4 separate regions of the Homo sapiens genome follow, and all the other regions are linked to region 1. The links are contacts of gene promoters, found by promoter capture Hi-C in blood cells and fetal thymus (Javierre and others, 2016). All regions are on one chromosome and are shown on one strand. Each heading gives the region's core, a stretch centred on a gene start or on the middle of the fragment in contact. The rest is flanking DNA. Distances are from core to core; before and after follow the strand shown. Region 1 holds the start of ATG14 (autophagy related 14). Region 2 overlaps LOC107984708 (a long non-coding RNA gene). Region 3 has its middle 21 kb from the start of FBXO34. Region 4 overlaps FBXO34-AS1 (FBXO34 antisense RNA 1).

The links. The method cuts DNA at HindIII sites, captures the fragments that hold promoters and counts their contacts. A CHiCAGO score of 5 or more calls a contact.
Region 2: a contact is called between a fragment that was not itself captured here and the fragment with the promoter of ATG14 in region 1, in 7 of 17 cell types (activated CD4 T cells, non-activated CD4 T cells, erythroblasts and 4 more). The highest score is 7.4, in activated CD4 T cells.
Region 3: a fragment that was not itself captured here is called in contact with the fragment with the promoter of ATG14 in region 1 in 3 of 17 cell types (activated CD4 T cells, non-activated CD4 T cells and total CD4 T cells); the score reaches 5.5 in activated CD4 T cells.
Region 4: a contact is called between a fragment that was not itself captured here and the fragment with the promoter of ATG14 in region 1, in 11 of 17 cell types (non-activated CD4 T cells, erythroblasts, activated CD4 T cells and 8 more). The highest score is 10.8, in non-activated CD4 T cells.

What each region holds. Positions count from the first base shown.
Region 1 is chr14:55,410,351-55,413,566 of GRCh38, forward strand. ATG14 (autophagy related 14) reads right to left here and starts at 1,480. Exons shown (of 10, transcript NM_014924.5): 1 at 1,252-1,480. The coding sequence starts at 1,472. It also overlaps a transcript of FBXO34 not described here and the pseudogene RPL21P6. RefSeq lists a silencer at 1,470-1,769. The HindIII fragment of the contact is 5,042 bases long and covers 896-3,216 here.
Region 2 is chr14:55,212,727-55,215,942 of GRCh38, forward strand. All of the region lies in intron 2 of LOC107984708 (a long non-coding RNA gene), which reads left to right. Among named protein-coding and RNA genes, the nearest start is that of DLGAP5, 23 kb to the left of the region's middle. The HindIII fragment of the contact is 4,492 bases long and covers 1-3,216 here.
Region 3 is chr14:55,248,460-55,251,675 of GRCh38, forward strand. No RefSeq gene overlaps it. Among named protein-coding and RNA genes, the nearest start is that of FBXO34, 21 kb to the right of the region's middle. The HindIII fragment of the contact is 8,647 bases long and covers 1-3,216 here.
Region 4 is chr14:55,267,137-55,270,352 of GRCh38, forward strand. All of the region lies in intron 1 of FBXO34-AS1 (FBXO34 antisense RNA 1), which reads right to left. Among named protein-coding and RNA genes, the nearest start is that of FBXO34, 2.7 kb to the right of the region's middle. The HindIII fragment of the contact is 217 bases long and covers 1,398-1,614 here.

The DNA of each region.
Region 1 (3,216 bases), core at 230-2,729:
CAAGAAGGTCCAGAACCAAATCCTCGATTCACTCCATCAGTTAGACATTTCCATCTCATACCCCGTATTCTTATAACTGGTTTAATTTTTAAAGCTATCACTTACTACATAAGCAGTTTCTAAAGTCATCAAGAGCACCAATAAGACACAGCAACAAAACTAAAAAAGAGTTTGTCATTCAAACCTCCTCAAAAGAGAAAGGAAAGAACTCCATCCACGATCACAGAAATACTAAGAACTCAAAACATTCCCAAATATAGAGGATATAAAGTCTAGTGGTTAAGTGCGGGTACATAGGTCCAAGCTGTCTGAATTTTAATTCTTGTACCAACACTTAACTATTTGTGTGACCTGGGGCAAAGCACTTACTGTGCAGCTTCCTAATAAGTTGGGGATAAGTCATTCGGTTGTTGCGAATGAATTAATACCTGAATTTTTGTGCTCAGAATGCTAGCTATCTTACTATCATTGACTATCATTGACACTAAATTGTTGAAACATAAGTTGAGAGTGGGAGATCCTGCAGCTAATCACACTAATTTTTCAATTTTCTTAACCAAGAACTTGTAGCTGTTTAGATTTCGAAATGAAACCAAAACATTTTCCTAAAGGCAATTCTCTTAACTAAAAGCATGCAGCTCCCAATCTGAATTTTAAAACAAGGCCAAAACACGTTCCCAAATTCCTAAGAATCTAAAATAATCTTTAGAGGCAGGGAGGGGAAAGGGGCGTTAACAGCAAGCCTCAATTCACACATTAGAGTAAGCATGTCTGATAACAAAGTCCATCTGTGACAGACTACCAGGCCCAAATCCCTCTAAAGCAGTTATTTGATTCTCTTCTACTCTCTCCTCTAGAGAATGAGTATAAATATGCTTTCGAAAATAGAAAGCCAAGCTTTTGAATGGGAGTACATACAGCAAAGAGCTGGGAATCTAACTTAATGGCAGCAACGGGAAAACTTCTCCAGAGAGTCACCACTTATTCCTTTTTTCCCCAGTGACCAAGAGCACCGTGGGGTCAAACTCCTCTTGGGTGGGTGATGGGGAAACGGCGACCTTCCCTCATCTGGCCCCTACGCTGTCCTCTGGTAGCAAAGCTCCGGTGCAGAGCAGCTAGCTACACTCCCTCTCTCTCGCTCCTCTCGCTGGTATCTGGTGCCCGGACGGGGAGCCCCAGGTTCCAGCCTTCGGCTGCCTGGCTGGAGGACACACAGCAGAAGAAACAATAGGGCCGTGGCGGCCGCCGTACCTCTCCCGGTCGCGGCCGTCGAAGTAGACGAAATCGCCGCTCTGAACGCATTTGGCGCAGGTCAGCCGCCGGCGGGTAGTGTTGCACAGCGGGCAGCGCTCCACAGCCACGTACAGCCCCTCCGCATCGTCCACGGAGTCCACCAGGTCCCGGGCGAGCGGCCGGGGCCCGCAGCCAGGAGCCTCCAGCGCCCGGGCTCCCTTCCCACTGGGAGACGCCATGATGGCCTGAGAGGAGAGCCAGTCACGTGGGATTTTGTTTTCAACCGGGTGCATTCTGGGCCAGGAGGAGGGGCCTGGGGAAGGGGGGCTGGGATGCCGGCGAGCCCCCGGACCCCTCCGCCGCCGCGTGTTCCTGTCCCGGGCACTGTTGTTTTTCCGGTCTGCTGAGGGGCAACAGGTCCCGAAGCAGGGGGAGAGTTATATTAGAGGGGCTAGTCGGCCAAACAAAATGTCATCTGCTGGCTCAGGCCAAGACTACGAGTTAAAGCCTCAAACTTGTGCAGAAAATTGTAATACCATACCCTAAGGATTCTGGGAAAACGGAATGGGAGCGGAATAAGGGAATTTAACTTGCTGTGGATGCTTTAAAATCTGGCTAAACTACAGCAAACAAAGTAGGGTGAAGGGGCTGGGTCTTGGAACTAGGTTGAATTTTGGCTCACTCACCTGCTTAATAGCTGTGTGACTTGGGGCAAGTTCCTTAATCTCTCTGCGCCTGTTCTCTCGTGTTAAATGGATAGAATTATAGTACCCATCTAATGCCGTGAGGATTAATATGGTTAATAGTATTATACTTTACCAATAGTGAAAACAACCAAAGTGAACGTGCAAAATCAGAATTGTATCCTTCTGAAAAGTTAATCACGTGGCTAACGTACCTTCCCTACCCTGGGCCATGCTCTAAGAGAATTTGAACTAGGTAGATGGTTAGGACTTCCCTTCAAGTTTCTTTTGGTGGATAGGGGATATATAAGGTGATGTGTTGGGAGGATCATATCAGAGTAATTAGTGTTTGAATATGCCTCTAAACTACAGAGAAAAGTGAGTTTATAGGTGAGATTAAATAGACCAGTGATTCTCAAGGATGATTTTACTAGGCTATCTACTGATAAACTGCCCTGAATTCTCTCTCTAGCCAGGATTCCTTTCTCAAGTTCCATACCCAAAGATCCAGAACTACTTACTAGGTATCAGGTGACATTCCAGGACACCACAAACTCAAAGTGTTGGAAACTGACTTCTGCCTCCCTACAAACCTGTTTTCTTACTTTGGTAAAGGACGTAATCACTGATGATTTACAGCCAAGAGCCATGATTCATATTAGCCCGTCCCTCCCTGTTAATCTCCACATCACCATCGAAAACTGGTGATTCTACAAGCTAATTAGGTCTTGAATCTGAGCCCTTTGCTCCTCCGTCTTCTTAATCTTACCCAGTCTTTTTAAATACAAATCACGTAGGATTACAAAAACAAGCAAAAGCAAAAATTCTCTATATTCAGAATACAGTTTACACTAAACTTGAATGGTTCCTGAAAGTTTAAGATTTATTTTTAAGTGAGAAGTCTTTCTCTCTGATCATTTCAAACAAAAGGATTATTTTTTAAGGTCTCGGGCTTATGTTTCATTTGTATTCAGACAGGATCCTTCACAGTGCTTAATACCTAATGATCAGGATCAACTGTTCAATATTTTAAAAGGCAAAAAATACACATTAATTCCTATCGTGCTAGATGATATCACAGATAGTATCTAGCTTATGCAGTTATTTGAAACTCCTATATGTTGCTATATATTTTCAGAGAACGCATATTAATGTATTACTTAACAGCAGAGCACTGAGGTTTTTGGATACAAAATGTAGTTTAAATATTTCTTTAAGGGGAGGGGGCGGCGCCACACTTCTCAATGAAGAGAAACATTTGTACAGTTCAGAATTTTTTTTGACACCTATTATGCCATGA
Region 2 (3,216 bases), core at 418-2,917, 200 kb before region 1:
GGCTGGGTTCCCTATTTGCATAGGGCATCAATTCTTGGTTGGCTCCACCCCATCTTTCCAGTGCGCGTGCGGGTCCTTAGTCTGAGCCACTCCACATTGATTTATTTCCTTACTGCGCATGTGTTAAGGGACGGAATTTTTCATTGCGGGCATGTTTGGGCAAGCCTTCTGTGCACAATGAGCTTGGCGGGTCGGGGGTTCTCCAGGGACCCTCCCCTATCTGCCTAGGAGAGTTCTCTGCCTCCTGCCTCTATCAGTATTCTCATGTCAATGCCAGGCTGCAATCATTTTTTTCTTTATATGCTAAATATACAAGTAGAAAATTATAGAATCAATTTAACTGTAAACATGTAATGTCATTATGTACATGATCTTAAATTATCCTTTTGGAAGATAAGTCTTTTTCTTTTTTAGTAGAAATATTAGGTCCTCTGTTTTCATTGTTAACCACATCAGAATCTGTATTATTACTTTTTATTTTGGAAATCAATTGCAGTACAGCAGGCTTACCATATGGTGGCACCCAAAAGCCCAGAAACCAACATCATGCGGCCCAGTATTAGACATGTGTTCAAAAATGTAGGCAGTCAGCTTTCTAGTAGGTAGCAACAGGAAATAAAGCGTCGTAAGACAGTCATCTTAAGAGGGTGCTGGAAATGTTCTACATTTTTATCTGGGTGGTGATTACATAGGTGTATATGTAAAAATTCATAAAGCTGTATTTTTATTTGTTCATTTTATTATTTGTATGTTGCACAACAATAAAAAAATTTAGGCTGGGCACAGTGGTTCACTCCTGCAATCCCAGCACTTTGGGAGGCCGAAGCGGGCGGATCACTTGAGTCAGGAGTTTGAGACCAGCCTGGCCAACATGGTGAAACCCCGTCTCCACTAAAAATACAAAAATTAGCCGGACGTGGTGGCGCGTGCCTGTAATCCCAGCTAGTCAGTAGGCTGAGGCACTAGGATCGCTTGAACCCGGGAGGCAGAGGTTGCAGTGAGCCGAGATCATGCCATTGCAGTCCAGCCTGGGCGACAGAGCAAGACTCTGTCTCAAAAAAAAAAAAAAAAAAAAAAAAAAAAATTAAATGACTATAAATGAGAACCATTTTATATAAGCCATCTTAAATTTTTCCCTATTAATGAAAACAATAACAACAGATTTTAGAGAGTACTAAATATTAGCAATTTTCCTGCATAGTATGAAACTATTTTATGATAGTTATTTTATTATTTTATTTTTTCTTTTATTATTCCCATTTTACACATGATATAGTTATTTGGGCTCATTTCTATACATTTAAAACATTAAAAAATTGTCAGTTTAAGTTAAAACTGTACCATCAGCGCATAACAGTACAATGGATGAATAAATTATGGGCACAATCACATATTGGAACATTTTTATACAAAAGAAGAATTAAAGAACCACAGCTGCATGCATTGACATGGATAAACTGCCAGGCACGGTAGCCCATGCATGTAATCCCAACACTTTGGGTGGCTGAGGTGGGAGGATTGCTTGAGCCCAGGAGTTTAAGACCACCCTGGGCAACCTAGTGAGACCCTGTCTCTAAAAAAAAAAAAAAAAATTAGCCAGGTGTGGTGGCATGTGCCTGTGGTTCCAGCTACTCTGCAGGTTGAGATAGTAGGATCACTTGAGCCTGGGAGGTTGAGGCTGCAGTAAGCGGTAATCATACTGCAGTACTCCAGCCTGCGCAACAGAGTGAAACCACGTCTCAAAAAAAAAGGACACGTTTTATAAACACAGTGTTGGGTGAAAGAAACAAGTCACAAAGATCACTTACATAGAAACTTTTGTATAAAGTTCAAAAATAGTCAAAATGAACTATATTGTTTATGGATGCATATATAGGTGGCAAGCCTAAAGAAACACCAGACAGAATGATTATCATAAAAGTCAGGATAGTGGTTACCCCTTAAGGGGAAGGAGAATGATGCCATCCGAGGAGAGGAACACAGATGGCTTCTAAGGTACTCGCATAGTCCTTCTATTGCTATATTTCTGGCCTGGCGCGGTGGCTCATGCCTGTAATCCCAGTACTTTGGGAGGCCAAGGCAGGTGGATCACAAGGTCAGGAGTTCGAGAACAGCCTGGCCAATATGGTGAAACCCCGTCTCTACTAAATATACAAAAATTAGCTGGGCATGGTAGTACATGCCTGTAGTCCCAGCTACTTGGGAGGCTGAGGCAGAAGAATCGCTTGAACTGAGGAGGCGGAGGTTGCAGTGAGCCGAGATCATGCCACTGCACTCCAGCCTGGGTGACAGAGTGAGACTCTGTCTCAAAAAAAAAAAAATAAAAATAAAATAAAATAAAAATATACATATTTCTTAACTTGAGTGGTGGTTACACGGGGTCTTACTTTATAATTGCTCTTTAAGTATAAAAGAGGCAGATCTAAAAGTAAAATTCCAACAGTCAGGTATTTTGTAGTCTGGAAAGTCCGTGGTATTACCCTTTAGCCAACTAAAAATTGTCATAGGCCCTTAGAATTATGTGTAAGGTTGCCAGATTTAGCAAATAAAAATACAGAACTACAGTTAATAAATATTCAGGGTTGTGAGTTGAATGTTAACTTCAGATAAAGAACAAGTTTCTAGTATAAGCATATCCTCATGCAATATCTGAGACATACTTATAATAAAAAACAAATCATTGTTTACCTGAAATTCACATGTTACTGGGCATCCTGTATTTTATCTGGTGACCCTAGTTATATGGCAAGTTGCACAAGCAGAAGCAGTTCATGGTGGCCCAGTGTAAGGAGTACCCAGAGGAGGCTCAGGGAAAGGGAAGAGAAGGAAGAAAAATCTTTAAGTAAATTAGCCTGACCCTAAGTTCCTATCTGAATAATTGTGTAAATGAATTTGCTGGCCAGGTGTGGTGGCTCATGCCTGTAATCCCAGCACTTTGAGAGGCCGAGGCAGGCAGATCACCTGAGGTCAGGAGTTCGAGACCAGCCTGACCAACATGGAGAAACCCTGTCTCTACTAAAATACAAAATTAGCAGGGTGTGGTGGCGCATGGCTGTAATCCCAGCTACTTGGGAGGCTGAGGTAGAAGAATCGCTTGAACTCGGGGGGCGGAGGTTGCGGTGAGCTGAGATTGTGCCATTGCGCTCCAGCCTGGGCAACAACAGCGAAACTTCATCTCAAAAAAAAAAAAAAAAAAGAATTTGCTGAGTTCAACCA
Region 3 (3,216 bases), core at 350-2,849, 160 kb before region 1:
ATCTTTATAGATTACAAGAGCAGAGAAGTTTTCAAGTCTGATGTGATGGGAGTTCTACATCAGGCTCCACATCAAATTAGAATCTTAGTCCAGATACTGTGGCAAATGTAGTGACACCATAGCAGGTTTCGTAACTATCGCATGTAACTCAGATGATGGTGTCGCTCTGCTTCCTACTTTTGTCTGACTCCCATTCTTGTAACCTGACTTTCTCTGCCTGCTCACTGCTGACCCTCTTTGTATGTCTCACTTTCAGATTCCCTGAAAGAGGATTAAATTGGGCCAGTTTATCCTTCTCTGTTCCTATTGGGCAGAGTTCTGCTACAAGCCATCTTAAATGGCAATGCTTTGCTTTATGTCCAGTCTATAGATGAGCAGCTTTGTCCTGAGTAGCCAGATCACATGAGACAAGTACGGCAACTGTCATGAACATCTGTCATTCGCAGCTGCCCGAAATCTTCCAAATAGTCTATCTTCGTTATCATAGTTCCTCAGTAGAAATCCTGCCTTCTCAATGTAGAACCCCAAACTCCCTTTCCAAGATTTCCTTCTTGTTAGGGTGCATACGAGTGATGTAGATTCCACTACCTAGACTCAAGCATTTGTTTCAAGATGGAGTTACATGGGGAAGGAGGGAGAGTACAGGGCCTGCATTTTGCAGGTGCAGATCCTGGCAAAGATGGTGTGGTTCTGGAGCCGGTGAAGTGAACCACAGAAACCAAAGAAGCAATGGACATTCACATCTGCACTTACTCTATATCCCAGTTCCAGATAACTTTTTCTTTCTCTGAGGATGAGGACTTCATGGAGACAAAAGGCCATCAAAATAGTTGCTGACATCCTGCAGCCAGAGAAAATGTTTCAAAAATGCAGATTGGATCATTACCCTCCAAAGACTTTCTTGTGCCTCTGCTATAGCCAAGGGAAGTCAGGAGTGAGCTCTCCTGTTGTTCTAGGAAGAGGATGAGAGACAGGTAAGGCAGGTCCCAGTGCATAGCTAGGGCCAGCATACATCACTGACTCCCAGCTGACCGAGAGATACATTGAGCTTGCCCAGCCCAGCCCACATCAGCTGACCCCCTGCTGACCCCAAAACACATGAGCAAGTCCAGCTGAGATTAGAAGAGCTGCCCAGCTTAGCCCAGATCAGCGGACCTCCGGGTAACCCTGGGACACATGAGCAAAGCCAGCTGAGGTCAGCACACTTACTCATCCCTACCCAGTTAAAATCAACCAATCCCCAGCTGAGCCACAGTTTCATTGTTAACAAGATAGAGCTACTCATTGAACTGGACCAGTCGTGGCTCCAGGACTGGAGACTGGCACTTTTCAGGTGCCACATTGAAAAGATGCTCAGGTGGCCCAATACTCTTGCCTCTGTGAGAGAGAGGAGATCCCTCCAGCACTCAATACCCCCTCAGATTATTATTTTGAACAGCAGCAACCTGAAGGGCTTCTGTCATCAAACATTTCACCCCACATGCAGGAAACATGTGAGAATTATTAATTATTTCCATGATCACAGTTGGACTCCACATTCTAGAAATGTGAAGACTTTGAAAGTACCACTTGCTTTGTCCTTAGGTTTTTTTTGTTTTGTTTTGTTTTGTTTTTTTGAGGTAGAGTCTCACTCTGTTGCCCAGGTTGGAGTGCGGTTGTGAGATCTTGGCTCATTGCAACCTCTGCCTCCCGGGTTCAAGCAATTCTCCTGCCTCAGCCTCTTGAGTAGCTGGGATTACAGGCATGCGCCACCATGCCCGGCTAATTTTTTTTTTTTTTTGAATTTTTAGTAGAGACAGGGTTTCACCATATTGGCCAGGCTGGTCTCGAACTCCTGACCTTGTTTTCTGCCCTCCTCAGCCTCCCAAAATGCTGGGATTATAGGTATGAGCCACCGCGCCCTGCCTTATCCTTAGCTTTTTAAAGTTAAAAGTAGTGAAGTAAGTTGAAACCATTTGTATGACTCCTCCAGTAAATTGCCCCATTCACATTCAAAGGCTAGACAAAAATCAAGGAGGGAGCTGAGAATGGGGAGTTTTCTTTGACCTTTGTGGCAGAATAAAGCCCTCATGGCCTCGGAATGAAATATGTACTCAGAAGAGGAAGAGCTTTTGGCCAGCGTTTTATGGGCTTCCCTCCCCTGCTTCCACTGAGGTCTGTGCCTGTTGCCAGCTTCTGGTTTGGTTCTAGGTGCAATGCTCACTGGTGCTCTCTGCATCTGATGTGGCTGGCAGTGTCCTGGCAACCTGAGGGGTTCAGAGTGATGGTGATGATGCTGTGTCACACCTGTCCTGGGGACACTGTGCCAGGTGGTGGAGGCATAACCAGGTACCTCATCCCAGGCCCAGGTCCTCATGGATTGCTGTGGAAAATGGTGGTATTCCTAGTCATATTTCTAATTATTAGAAGTCTACTTTATGCAAGTAGAGACAAATAACTGGCCACTTTTGCCCTTCTGGAGAAAGACATTAAATATTTTACAATCTTAACCTCATTCAGAAGAATTTTAAAAAGGCCACTATGGCTGGGTGCAGTGGCTCACACCTGTAATCGCAGCACATTGGGAGGCTGAGGTGGGCGGATCACGTGAGGTGAGGAGTTCGAGGCCAGCCTGGCCAGCATGGTGAAACCTCGTCTCTACTAAAAATACAAAAATTAGCCGGGCATGGTGGCGGGCACCTGTAATTTCACCTACTTGGGAGGCTGAGACAGAATTGCTTGAACCCGGGAGGCGGAGGTTGTACTGAGCCAAGATTGTGCCACTGCACTCCAGCCTGGGCGACAGAGACTGTCTCAAAAAAAAAAAAAAGGAAAGAAAAGGCTAAATACGTATGATTCCAAGTATATGACATTCTAGAAAATGCAAAATTATGGAGATGGTAAAAAGATGAGTGGTTACCAGGGATTGGAGGAAGAGGTGTGAATAGTCAGGACACAAAGAAAGGACTTTTAGGGCAGTGAGGCTATTCTGTACAATACTGCAACGGTGGATACATTCCATTAAACATTTTTCAAAACCCAAAGAATATATAACACCAAGAGTGAGACCTAATGTAAACTATGGACCTTGGGAGATAATGATGTATCAATGTAGGTTCATCAGTTGTAACAAATGTATCACCGTAGTGTGGGATGTTGATAGTGGTCGAGGTTGTGCATATGTGGGAACAGGGGTATATGGGAACTCTCTGTACTTTCTGCTTAATTTTGCTGCGA
Region 4 (3,216 bases), core at 256-2,755, 140 kb before region 1:
CTGTAATCCCAGCATTTTGGGAGACTGAGTTGGGAGGATCATGTAAGCCTGGGAGTTTGAGACCAGCCTGGGAAACATAGGGAGACCCCATCTCAACAACAATAAAAAATTAGCCAGCCACAGTGGCGAGCATCTGTGGTTCAAGCTACTTGTAAGGATGAGGTGGGAGGATCACTTGAACCTGGGAGGTCAAGGCTACAGTGAGCCGAGTTGGTGCCACTGCTGCCTAGCCTAAGTGACAGAGCAAAAACCCTGTCTCAAAAAAAAAAAAAAAAAAAGAGAGATACCTATGGAAATTGTGTGGCTCACTGTATTGACAGTGTAGAAACCACCTTCTGAATGTTCTGAGGGCAATACTGTGGGGATAGGAGGATCTGGGACCTTGATTTGTTTCCCATCCATTGTACTGGAAGGGCTGCCCTTGCTCTACATGTCTCTTACACCGCCCCACCATGAGAGTGCAGATCACTATAAGATAAGTTAATCTAAGGAACTTTTAAAAAAATTAAAATTATCTTCTAAACTGTCTGTATATATCAGGGTGTGCTTTTTTACTTCTGCTAAGAGTCTCCAAAGAGACTCTTGATTTTTAGCTCTTATCAGATTTTCACAGGGGCACAAGATCTAAAAAGAAGGATAAGAAGGATAAGAACTATGATTTCCTGGGTTTCAATACTTATTCAACTTTATGTCCCTCACCATCCACATCTTAATTATAAGATAGAATCATATCTGTTAGACAGTGTGCTGCCTTGGTGCTCTAGTTTTCCCTGAGTTGTTCTATTTATTGTGGATAATATTTATATTCTCATGGCTGAGTAGCTCCTGCCCATCCCCCCGTCATCACCAATGAGCTTCACACATGCATAAACCTGGGCATAAGCTCAGGGCTTGAAGCATGCTCCAACGGCCACATTCCAGGCATATTTTTTAAGTACATGCTTTACTTTTGCAAAGTTGAAACTTTTAAAAGCACTTCTGCTTCTCTTTTCTTATTTGGTCTTTATAATAACACAGTCAAGTAGGTAGGGAAAGGCATTATCACACCCAGCGGCCTAGGTTCTGCAGCAAAGTAGGTCTAGATGCAAAGTCTAATGGAGCCTGTCTCTTGGTTTCCTTTCTCCAGCAGCGGGGAAGTAAGTTTGATAAGGAGGGTTGGGGGGTGAGAGAGAGAAGATGAAATGGTGGGTGTCCTAGTCTGTTTTATGCTACTATAACAGAACACCTGAGACTGGGTCATGTATAAAGAACAGAGATCTATTTCTTACAGTTCTGGAGCCTGGGAAGCCCAAGGTCAAGGGGTTCATAACTCTTGAGGGGCTTCTTGCTACATCATCCCATGGTATAAGGTGGAAGAGCAAGAGAACACCTAACAGAGTGAGAGATAGAGAGGGCCAAGCTTGCTTTTATAGTAACTCCCTCTCTTGATAAGTAATCCACTCCCTTGATAATGGCATTAATCCATTCATGAGGACGGAGCCCTCATGACCTAATTGCTTCTTAAAGGTCCCGCTTCTTAACACTGTTGCATTGAGGATTAAGTTTCTAACACATAAACTTTGGGGGACACGTTCAAACCATAGCAGTGGGTGTTTTTATTTGGAGGTTGGAGTAAGCTTATTAAGGAATAAGCAGTAAGTTCTTAGTTTTTTTTTTTTTTTTTTCTGAGCAAAGAACAGAAATGAAACCAAGTCTATACAAGACAAATCCCTTGAACTGAGTTTTAATTAATATGTTTGCTGGCTTGAAACAACTAAGTTTTAATTACTAATGGAATAACCAAATATATATACTATATATATTTAGAACTTTTCTGCTGCTGTGCCACCTCAGTCTTGTTCTTCTTTCGGCTCTCACCAGTCCCATGGCCTCAATGTGCCACCCCATGCCCACCTGGGGAGCACCTTCCTGAAGACCTACCACAGGACCTGTGGGTTGATAAACTATACTGGCTCTACTGGCTTTGCTTCTAGGGGATCATTGCCATTATACAAATGGAGAAACAAAATCAAGGGAAGTTCTTGCCTAACATGGTTATGCTCTCTCCTAGTTCTTTTCTCCTAGACTGGGGCTATTTAAAGTGTGGTTCACTGGCCAATCTGAGACAAGAACTGAAATTGAGAATCAGATTTTAGAAACTTTACTAGCAATTTGACAGAATAATTTTATGTCTGTGGACTTTAATAATCAATAATTCATAGGCTAGGCATGGTGGCTCACTCCTGTAATTCCAGCTATTTGGGAGGCTGAGAAAGGAGGATTGCTTGAGGCCATGAGTTTGAGACCACCCTGGGCAACATAGTGAGACCCTGCCTCAAGAAAAAGATGAAAAAATATAATAATTAATAGTTCGGGCTTTTATTATGTCTTTTAAAATTAATTTCATTTTTATATCAATTTTTTGAGTCCTCTAATCAACAGGAATCAAGTTTTGTTTGTTTTTTTTTTTTTTTTAGATGGAGTCTCACTCTTGTCGCCCAGTTAGGAGTGCAGTGGTGTGGTCTCAGCTCACTGCAAACTCCACCTCCCAGGTTCAAGCGATTCTCCTGCTTCAGCCTCCCAAGTTGCTGGGACTACAGGCGTGCCCTGCCACACCGGGCTAATTTTTGTATTTTTAGTAGAGATAGGGTTTCACCATGTTGGCAAGGCTGGTCTTGATCTCCTGACCTCAAATGATCTGCATGCCTTGGCCTCCCAAAGTGCTTGGATTACAGGCGTGAGCCACCATGCCCAGAAGGAATCAAGAGGTTTTAAGAAGGACAGTGTTTGAGATGAATCTGAAAGGATAAACTGAAGTTTTACAATTTTGAGCTAACTATGACATAAAGAAGCTTCAAATGATCATGATATATTGAGCTAATATTGCTCACATATTAAATCAGACATACAGTTTGATGCCACGGTGTACCATATAACACCCTTCCTTAATTTTTTTTTTCCTTTTTGAGATGTGAGCCACCGTGCCTGGACTTCCCCTCTCCAATTTTTATTAAAAATATGTATATAGATAAAGGTCTAGATGGAGATACTGAGTGGTTATTTCTTGGTGATGAGATTATGGGAAATATTTTTATTTTGTTTTTACGTTTTAATATTTAAGATTTTACACATATATTTTACAACAGTAGTTTTATAATTGGACAAAATTATTTTTGTTAAGGACTGGCTAAAATCAAAGTTGCTGGTTTAAGTGTAACTTGGTACAACCTTTTAAAA